Linked DNA regions of Homo sapiens: region 1 is linked to region 2. Evidence: promoter capture Hi-C in 16 types of primary human blood cells and fetal thymus (Javierre and others, 2016). All regions are on one chromosome and are shown on one strand. The core of a region is centred on a gene start or on the middle of the fragment in contact, and the rest is flanking DNA. Distances in the headings are between cores, read along the strand shown.

Region 1 (4,897 bases), core at 1,625-4,124, 2.5 Mb before region 2:
TAGATTTCTGTAAGGCTATTTAAAAATGTAGAAATGAAGTGGTTTTGTCCAATGACTTTGTTACTTAAAATCCTAAGAACCCTGTATGGTTAGAGTTCTATAATGTACACTGTAAGTTAACACATATGTTACCTTGTGCTGTGGTTTTAGTACATCCCCCAAAGTTTGTGTGTTGAAAACTTAATCCTCAATGCAGCAACATTGAAAAGGTGGGAACTTTCAATAAGGTCATAAGGGCTCTTCCCTCATGAATAAATTAGGTCTGTATCATGAGAGTGGGTTAGTTATTTTGGCCCCTTCTCTGTCTTGTCTGCTTTCTTGCATTTCTGCCTATCTGCCATGGGATGATGCAGCAGGAGGGCCCTAGCCAGATGCCAGCACCATGCTCTTGCACTTTTCAGTCTCCAGAAACTTGAACAAAATAAACTTCTTTTCTTCATAAATATTACCCAGGTATGGTATTCTGTTATAGCACTAGAAAGCGGACCAAGTCACATTGGGTTAGCAAATAAAAAGTCAAAATATTTCAATGCACAGATTTATAATCATGACAGGCAAAATTACTTATCTAATTCTGAGGGATAAATTATCTAACTTTTACTTGGAGTTTTCTAAAAGACCTAAAATGTTTAACTGTGGGTCAACCTTTACCTGATATGCTTACTTATAAAAGTCTAAGAATACTGATTTTTTTCTCAATTTGCTTATGTGTTTAGAATTATTATTTTTAAAAACACCCAACTAGTCTTCCCCACATCTAATTAATCAATATGCACAGAAAACAAATAAATAAAAATATAGAAAAGACACTGAAAATTTAAAGTTTAAGAACTAATGGATTGATAAGAAAAACAGTGCCTCAAAAATGGTTTTTATATATATATAAATTATGTATATAATACATTATAATGTATGTTTATAATAATATATAATTTTACCATAATTTATAATTTATATCATAAATTGTATATACATATTTGATAAAAATATTATTTTAACCATATATATATACACACACAAACACACACACACATATATATATAACCATTATATATATACTGATAAAAATTTTACACCACTGGAACATTTCATTATTTTGGCAGGATTGTCTTTGGGCAGCACAACCTTGAGGAGCAATGTAGCAATATCTTATAAGGTTGAAGAAACAGCCATAGACAGCTCAGTAATGAAATCATTACTGAATGTGTACACTAGAGAAACTCTTACATATGTGCAAATTTAGTAAATGCTCCCTGTCCCTTTGGCCTGATGAGTTCACCTACTGCTCCTTTAAACAGCTACTGACCTGCTGCTAGACTGTAACTTCCTGTTTCTGCATCACCCTTCTCCACTTAAGCCGTTTCTCTGAAAACAAATGAGATAGAAATGCTGGACACAGGAACACTCAGTATGTGCCTGTGTTAACACTACTTAAGGGAAATCCTCAACAATTGGGGCTAAAAGGCAATGGCTAAATCCTGTAGCTTCCTTGTACTGGGGTAGAACTAACCCAAGGTATGTTCCTTACAATCCCCAGTGGGATTGTGACTCAGTTGTTAACTGTGGTACTCAAGCTTGTTAAGACGTAACTTTATTGCCCCTTTTCTCTTACCTATTTCCCTTTCTTTCTTTTCTCATTTTTGGTGCCTGGGATCAACTTCAAAATAAAGTGTCTGTGTCCAAATCCTTGACTCCATTGGATTTGGTGGGGGAAGGATTAAGACTAAACAGAATATGAGAATGTCCATTCCAGCATGATTTGTAATAGTAAACAATCAGCAAAATTGAGGCTTTTAAATTTTATTGTGTTTTATAGTAGCTTAGCAAAATAAATCAATAATTTATTTTTATATCTAGAACAACCGAGAATTTACATTCAGAGATATTAAATTTATAATATCTTCATAAATTGGAATTGGAATTAATTTATAATATTTTCTTATGTGAAGTCAATACTACTGACTATCAAGACTTCTTATATGAAGTCAATACTATTATCACTTTTTGGTGTAAGTGTGGAACATACATTCAAATGACTACCAAGTAATGGGATTATATGCATGCTTAGAAATAAATACAGATATCAAGTTCTGAATAAGTGGTCATGGTAATATTTATTCCCAGATAATTGCAACAAACCATGTAGAAATTATATATTTCTTAGATGAATCAACAATTCAATTGTATTATACTGTGTATTAGTCTGTTCAGGCTGTCAGAACAAAATACAATAGACTTGATGGCCTAAACACAGAAATGTATTTTCTCATAATTCTGAAACTGGAAGTCCAAAAGCAAGGAGCCAGCAGGGTTGGTGTGTGGCGAGGGTTTGCCCCTTGGGTTGCAGATGATTGGATGCCTCCTTGCTACATTTGCTACATGCTGTCTTGATCTTTTCTTTGTGTCCTCCTGGAGAGACAGCTAGAGAGAGAGAGAAAGAGAGAGAGTGAGAGAGAGGAGAAAGTTATTTTTCTCTCTGGTGTTTCTTCTTATAAAGACATTATTTCTATTGGATTAGTGTCCCAATTTAATGATCTTATTTAACCTTAATTATATCTGTAGAGGCTTCTTCCCCAAATACACAAATACAGTCATATTGGCAGTTAGGCCTTCAATATATGAATCTGGGGGAAGGAATATAAATATTTAGTCTATAATATACTCACATTCTGTACTCAAGACTTTTTATTAAAATAAGTTACAAGGAACTTATCATCCACTGATTACTAAGAGGCGTTGGGAACCATATGCAAATAATTTTTAATCTTGATCCTTCTAACACTTTATTACAAACTATTCATATCTAGAATTTAAGATTTGGATGAAACTTTTCAGATTATCTACTATAAGCACAACGTACAAGGATATTTCTATGTGTTTCTTGGCAAGGTGCCAGGATCATACTCTATTTCTGGGCGGAGGGAACAGTGCATTGTATTTACCTAAATATTTAGAGAGTCTTCTTAATATTGACTTATAATATTTTTTCTTATAATGTCTATACATTTGACATAAATATGCCATCTGGAAAATGCTGACCATATGTGTTCTCTGATTCCAAGTATCACTGTATTTATTTTCATGGTAACCTAGCTTCAGAACAACTCAAGTGCTCAAACCAAACACTGTAATATGGATACTGCCTGTCAACTAACAGATACTTTTTCTATGATTTCCTCATAAAAAGTATTTGCACAGGCTGGGTGTGGTGGCTCAGCTGTAATCCCAGCACTTTGGGAGGCTGAGGTGGGCGGATCATGAGGTCAGGAGTTCGAGAACAGCCTGGCCAACGTGGTGAAACCCCGTCTCTACTAAAAATACAAAAATTAGCTGAGCGTGGTAGTGAGCTTCTGTAATCCCAGCTACTCAGGAAGCTGAGGCAGGAGAATCATTTGAACCCAGGAGGCAGAGGTTGCAGTGAGCCGAGATCACGCCACTGCACTCCAGCCTGGGCGAGAGAGCCAGACTCTGTCTCAAAAAAAAAAAAAAAAAAAAAAGGATTAGCACGATACAGAACCCTTTTCTCATAATGCCATTTCAAAATTAAAGTTATTTGTTTTGTTGTTGTTGTAGTTGTTTTGGTAAAAGGAAGAAGAAGAAGAAGAGAAAAATTATGGATATGAGGGCAATCTAAGAGCAACATCTATCAACCATTTGATTGCCAGGGTTGGTGCAGCAGATCTGGTTGACTAGACAGGTGTTCCCTTCCTTCCTCACCACTCCATATGCGTTCCTTCCAAAGCTGTGTGCTCGGTAAAAGAGGATGACCATCCGCGATGGAGAAGGACCCATCTTCAGTCAAGGGCACGTGAGTAGATGGGCTTCCCTGCTAGAACTTCCAAACAAGCTCTCAAGAAGAGAAAAATCAATCACATGATATTATTCTTCACCTCTCTTGTTTATTATTTATTGATTTATTTTGTTGCTATTGTTGAATAGTTCATATAGAGTAAGTCTGGAGAAAAATAAATTAAACGGTAAGGACAATTCAGTGATTATCCAATTGAACAGCTGTATGTGAAATAACATCATTATTGGTATTACTTTATTACTTTTAGGGTTTGAATTCTTGTGTTCAAGTGTAGTTCTTTCAGATATTGTTGCTGTATTATCATCTCTAAATTTGTAAGTTGTTTCTTATTTCACAGGGACATAAAGACTGGAAACAAGCTTCATTGCCATTGGGGTTCAGTTGTATCTAAGTGATAAGAGAAAATTTCTTGGTGTTGTAGAAGAGCAGAAGCCATTGTTCTCATGCCATGGCTGAGGATAAATGTGTGGGCTTTGACAAATGGCAGACATGGGTTTTTGCCCATTGATTTTGGAGATCTTCCTGAGAATCATCTTCTTAGGTGTGGTAGGCAACTAAAATAATTGTTAATGGCTTCCTGAGATTCCTTCACTTAAAAATATCTTGAAAGCAGCTTTTCTGACTGTCATTTTGCCACCTCTCAGCAGTTTTATTGGCCACTAGTTCTGTGTCTTAAACCTCTTTACATGTAAAATACTTAAGAGTGCTTTCAGTTTTAATGTCTAAACTCTTATCTATTCAGTAGTGGATATTTGCCACTCTCTTCTAGTAAATATCTGGTTTTCAAATAGATTATATGGTTATGTGAGAAAAATCCCAGAATTAAAAAAAAAATCAGTCCTATTAAATTAACCACATACCTCCATCACACCCAAAGTTCTTGCTGCTTTTCCTCATTCTTTCAAAAAAATTTTTTATGGTTTCAAAACTCCATGCTGATAGTTTTTATCTTTTGTAATGATATAAATCAAGAAAATATGTCAGGAAATAAAATTGATATAATTTCAATACATTTATTTTTATATTGTTTTATTTTGTATTAGACTTGATTTTTATGATAAAAGTCAATGAAAGTTATCAAAATTT
Region 2 (5,232 bases), core at 581-3,080:
AATTTGACGTTTTATTTATTTATTATTTAGGAAGGAGAGGGACAAAGGGGGAAAAATACCTATTGTGACACAATCCTTTAAAGACCCATGGCCTTTTATAATAAGGACAGAATCCCAGGACTGCAGAGAGCAAGATGAAGAACAATGAAGGGGGCGGAGGGTGAAGAGAGGTTGATGGGTATAAACACAGAAGAAATAAGACCTGGTGTTGCATTGATCAGTGGGGTGACTATAGTTCACATTAATGGATTGTACACTTCCAAATGGCTAAAAGCAAGTTAAGTTGAATGTTCCTAGCATAAAGAAGAGATAAATATTTAGGGTGATGGATATACCAATTACCCTGATTTGGTTATACGAATGTAACACATTCTCACGAGTACCGTGAAACTATGTCTAAGAAAAAAAAAAAGAAAAGAACAATGAGGAGAGGTGAGAAGCAGAGCAAGTCTAAAGGGAAGAGCTTAATGGTGAGCGGCTGGACCAGAAGACAGGAAAAGGCTCCAGGGAAGGCGAGGTAGATGACGGCCAGGCACTCTAATTGTCGCAGAATCGATTTCGGCTTTGTGCGTGGGAAACACAAAGGAAGCGGAAAGTCGGAGGACTGGGCAGAACCCGAAACTCACCACCAATACACACTTTAGAATGTATTTAAGGACCCTCAGGGCATTGTTATTTTTCAAAAGTTTGGAGGCAATGCATGGAGATTTTCTAATATCCAAGGAAATAAAGCCTACTGGAATAGGTATGTCCGGAATCAGGAACCAACTTTACACACTCGGGCTGGGCACGTTTTCCCAGCCCTTCTTCGCAATCGCGGACAAGCAGCTGGTGCGGGTCAAAGGGTGACTGGGCTCCTTACTCCCTCCGGTCTGGGGCGCGCTCACTCCATATTTGGCCATTCTGCTACCAGCTTGGGGTTCTGCCTGGTAGAGGTCCCCTAACCCCGTGCCCTGCAGCCCATCATCACACGGTCACCGCCGGCACCAGTGCAGGGCTGGGGAGCGCGGGGCTGGGCCCCCCGTGGCGGGGCGGCACCGCTGGCGCCCGGGAAGGGCCGCGTCCCGGAAGTCTTTGTCTCCGCAGCTCCCGGCCCGGCGCCGCGGGTCTGCCTCCCCCGTGGCCCGGGCGCCCCGAAGCGCCGCGAGAGCGAGCACCCAACCCGGGCGACGAAAACGGACCCTGCCCCGGGCTCCACGAGCCCCTGGTGTCCCCTCACGACTCTGCACCCCCTGATCTGGAGCGCACAGAGCCGCACCCACCTCCGGCGCTGCAGAGTCCACTGCCCTGAGGCCACCACGTTCCTCGGGGCAGCCTCTCCTCTCGCCCCCAGCCCTTCCCCACCCAGCTCTGCAGAACTGGCTCCTGAACCACCGCCAAGTGCAAAGCCGACACGTCGCACCGCGGTAAAAATCGTTCCATTTCTGCCGGCTTCCCAGTCCGCCCCCGGCCGGCGAAACGTCACGTGAGCCGAGTGCGGAAGTCGACCCGAGAGGTGGGGGCGTGGGCGGCGCGCGCCCCACGGGACCCCAACCCGCGAGGTCTCGGCCCAGCCGGTCGCAGCTTCCGCGCGCCCTGAGCCCCCTCCCGGCCCCCTCCTGACCCGACTCTCACCGCAGCCCGCGGTGCCCGGCGGCGCACCACGGACACCCAGTCCATCCCTGCTACCTAAGCCACATCTGCCCGGGCGCTCACGCACCTCTCTGCGCGGTTTTCCTTCCCGCCGGAGAACTGGCGCCGCGTGGGTCTGGACCCGGTTACCTTCTTCAGTGCACTGGGGAGGGTGAGGCCAAGGAAGGAAGTGGCTGAGGCAAAGAGAAAGACGGCTGTGGAGGAGGAGGAGCAGGGTAGGGGGAAAAGTAAGTGTTTCTGCGCTCAAGAAAGGGGCCGCCCACACTCCCAGGGACAAGCCTATGAGGAGGAAACTCAGGGGAGGAGACGTCCAAGAAAGGGGCTGACTGCAGACAGGTGAAGCGCCCTGGGCTCCTAGGAAAACGGGCCCAGAGCCTGGATTACCTCACTTTTCCACCGTGCTACTCAGAGCCAAGGATCCCAGGATCTGCATCTGATCCTGGGCGTCGATTTCCTGATGGATTTCTCTCCCAACGTAAGAAACAAAGCGCCCTCAAATTGCTGAAGGCTGCTAGAAAGAACGTGGCATTCATGGGTTCCGGATGCCGGGGGCCTCCAGAAAACTACGACTCATGACTTAAAAATGGCTTAATTCGCAAAACAAAATGCAATCTTGAAAGCCAATTTGTCAGACTGCAAAGAAATTTTACTTGGACATAGATAGTTGTTGACCCTGGGTCAGTATCGGTTTCTTCCCTTGTTCATTCATTATTTCATACATTTAACTTCATAATTCAATTTATTCATGCTCCCTTTGTTTTAGTCACTGTTATTTTAATATATGCGTGTGTGAGAGAGAGATGCTTACCGTACCCAGAGAGTCCTTTTGGAAAGGAAACAGTTACCCAAACTATTTCTAGAGCAGGGGTTGCACAAATAACTACAAAAAACGTTCCTTACCCCCTCCCCACCCCCAGCCCAGCTAATTTAAATTAAGAGTGATCGCGTGACCCAAGAGCGCACAATCCGTGATGTAGTCATCATCCTGTGAGGTGACCTGGAGCAAACAGTTCTCATCAAACACGGACTCTGATAGTTAGTAAGCCAATCAGACACTCCCTTGGAAATGGAAAGTGGAGAATGCAGAGACGGAGCTGTCTGATGTAAGAGAAAGGTTGGAGCTAAGAGAGGGTAAGGCAGAAGGGGCCAAAATGGGCTTCGGATGCAAAACATTTGAGTAAGCAGAAACCAGGAGAATGTAGCAGCAGGTTGGGTGGAGGCACAAGTGGTAGAAGCCAGTCAAAGACAAGCTGAGACCAAGTGATGGAAGGAGAGCAACAAAGACCTGCTTCCCAGGGGCATGTGAGTGTTCAGTTCCCTGGGGCTGCACTGGATCCATCCACTTCCCACGCTTCATTCTAGTCTTTACGGTGAATACCTGTCTCCTGGGTGTGACTGAAGGAGTCTCTGTTCTGTAATCTTCAACAAAGGTCTGATTCTTCTAAGTGTCTCATGGCAGATAAAGTTTAAGGTGACTCCAAGATCTTTTCAGACCTATTTTTTTCTTTTACTTGTTTTATATTGTTACCAAAATGATTGAGGCCTATTTTTTTCTCACCAAAAGAAAGGTGAGAAGTTATAGTTTATATCTTTCACAGTCGACATAAGGCAAAAAATATATAATTCAAGAAAAATATATTTAGCAATTATCGAAGCAGGACCTCGCTATTTTGGCCTGTGACAGGGATCACAATTCATCAGTCAGATAATATCCAATGATAGGAATAATGAGTCTGGAGAGCACCGCTTCTGTTATGATTAGGTAATTAGTATTGCCCTAATTGCCAACCAAAGAAAAAGAAATAGGTTACTTTACCTAAAGAAGTAAACATCCTTGTTAATATAAAAATAAACTCACCCAAAAGATACTTTGTTTACACATGTGCTAAACTAAGTATAACACAAGCTTTATGTTAATCTATAAGGAATTACAATTTAAGAAAATTGTTTTGTCGGCTGGGCGCAGTGGCTCATGCCTGTAATCCTAACACTTTGGGAGGCCAAGGTGGACGGATCACCTGAGGTCAGGAGTTCGAGACCAGCCTGCCCAACATGGCAAAACCCCGTCTCTACTAAAAATACAAAAATTAGCCAGGCGTGGTGGCACATGCTTGTAATCCCAGCTACTCTGGAGGCTGAGGCAGAAGAATCACTAGAACCCAGGAGGCGAAGGTTGCAGTGACCCAAGAGCGTGCCACTGCACTCCAGCCTGGGCAACAGAGTGAGGCTGCATCTCAAAAAAAAAAAAAAAAAAAAAAAAGGAAAGAAAAGAAAAGAAAAGAAAAAAGAAAGCTGTTTTGATAAAAGAAATATTAAAAAATCTTAACTAATATTTTTCATATCCAATCCTAGTCCTTCAATTTCCAAATAGACTTTTGTTATCTATTCTTATTCCCTCAGGAATATCATCATGTACAATGTAAGCAATGTGGAAGTTTAACCTAAAAAGAAAATAATACAATTTATCAAATTAAAGAGTATTTAATATATTTTAAATAAATGTGCCAGCCACAAAGTGCCAATACTAAATCGTCCAAAGTAGCCCATGACCTGTCCTTTGTCAAACAGAACTGCAAGTAATGTACATTTGAAATATTAAAACAATCCTTATCCATGTATTTAATTGCATGCATTGTAATTTAATTGCATGTATTTAATTCGGACCAGCACTGTCCGAAGGAAATAAAATTGTGAACAACACGTCCAATTTAAAATTTCTAGTAGCCACATTTTTTTTAAAAAGGTGAGATTTATTTTAATAATATGTTTTATTTCACCCAGTATATCCAAACTACTATCATTTCAACCTGTAATGGATATTTTGAAATTATTAATAAGACATTGTACATTCTTTATTTCATACTAAATCTTGTAAGTCTATTTTGTATTTTACATTTACCCAACATTTCAGGTGCTCAATAGCCTTCTATGGCTAGTGGCTGCTGTATTAGACAGTGTAGCTATAGACAATTCCAGAATAAAGCGTTATATTATATGCTAATACTTTACTTAAAAACTTATTACATGTTCCTGGAAGGAGAAAAATAACACTATGATATTTAAACACTCATGGAAAATCGAAGTCATTATTTTAAAAATGCAGTTGTCTGCACTGTAATGAATAGAAAAAACTTTTCTATTTTTTCCTCTATCTTAGAGGATCTCTAGGATGGCAATTCCATCCTGGGTATATACCCAACAGAAAAGGGAGATACATTCACCAAGAGACATGTACAAAATATTCACAGGAGCACTGACTGTGCATATTTCTTTCTTCTTCTTCCTTTTTTTTTTTTTTTTTTTTTTGAGATGAAGTTTCGCTCTTGTCACCCAGGCTGAAGTGCAGTGGCGCAATCTTCACTCACTGCAACCTCGGCCTCCCAGGTTCAAGTGATTCTCCTGCCTCAGCCTCCTGAGCAGCTGGGATTACAGACATGCACCATCATGCCAGCTAATCTTGTATTTTTAATAGAGATGGGTTTTGCCATGTTGGTCAAGCTGGTCTGGAACTCCTGACCTCAGGTGATCCACCCACCTCAGCCTCCCAAAGTGCTGGGATTACAGGCATGAGCCACCATGTCCGGCTGTATTTCTAAAATA

The links. The method cuts DNA at HindIII sites, captures the fragments that hold promoters and counts their contacts. A CHiCAGO score of 5 or more calls a contact.
Region 1: a fragment that was not itself captured here is called in contact with the fragment with the promoter of ABRACL in region 2 in 1 of 17 cell types (total B cells); the score reaches 5.9 in total B cells.

What each region holds. Positions count from the first base shown.
Region 1 is chr6:141,485,131-141,490,027 of GRCh38, reverse strand. It overlaps the pseudogene RN7SKP106. Among named protein-coding and RNA genes, the nearest start is that of GJE1, 650 kb to the left of the region's middle. RefSeq lists a silencer at 1,229-1,429. The HindIII fragment of the contact is 2,596 bases long and covers 1,577-4,172 here.
Region 2 is chr6:139,025,343-139,030,574 of GRCh38, reverse strand. It overlaps ABRACL (ABRA C-terminal like), which reads right to left and starts at 1,830. Exons shown (of 3, transcript NM_021243.3): 1 at 1,700-1,830. RefSeq lists silencers at 637-827, 877-1,246, 1,507-1,666 and enhancers at 47-866, 689-983. The HindIII fragment of the contact is 5,437 bases long and covers 1-3,540 here.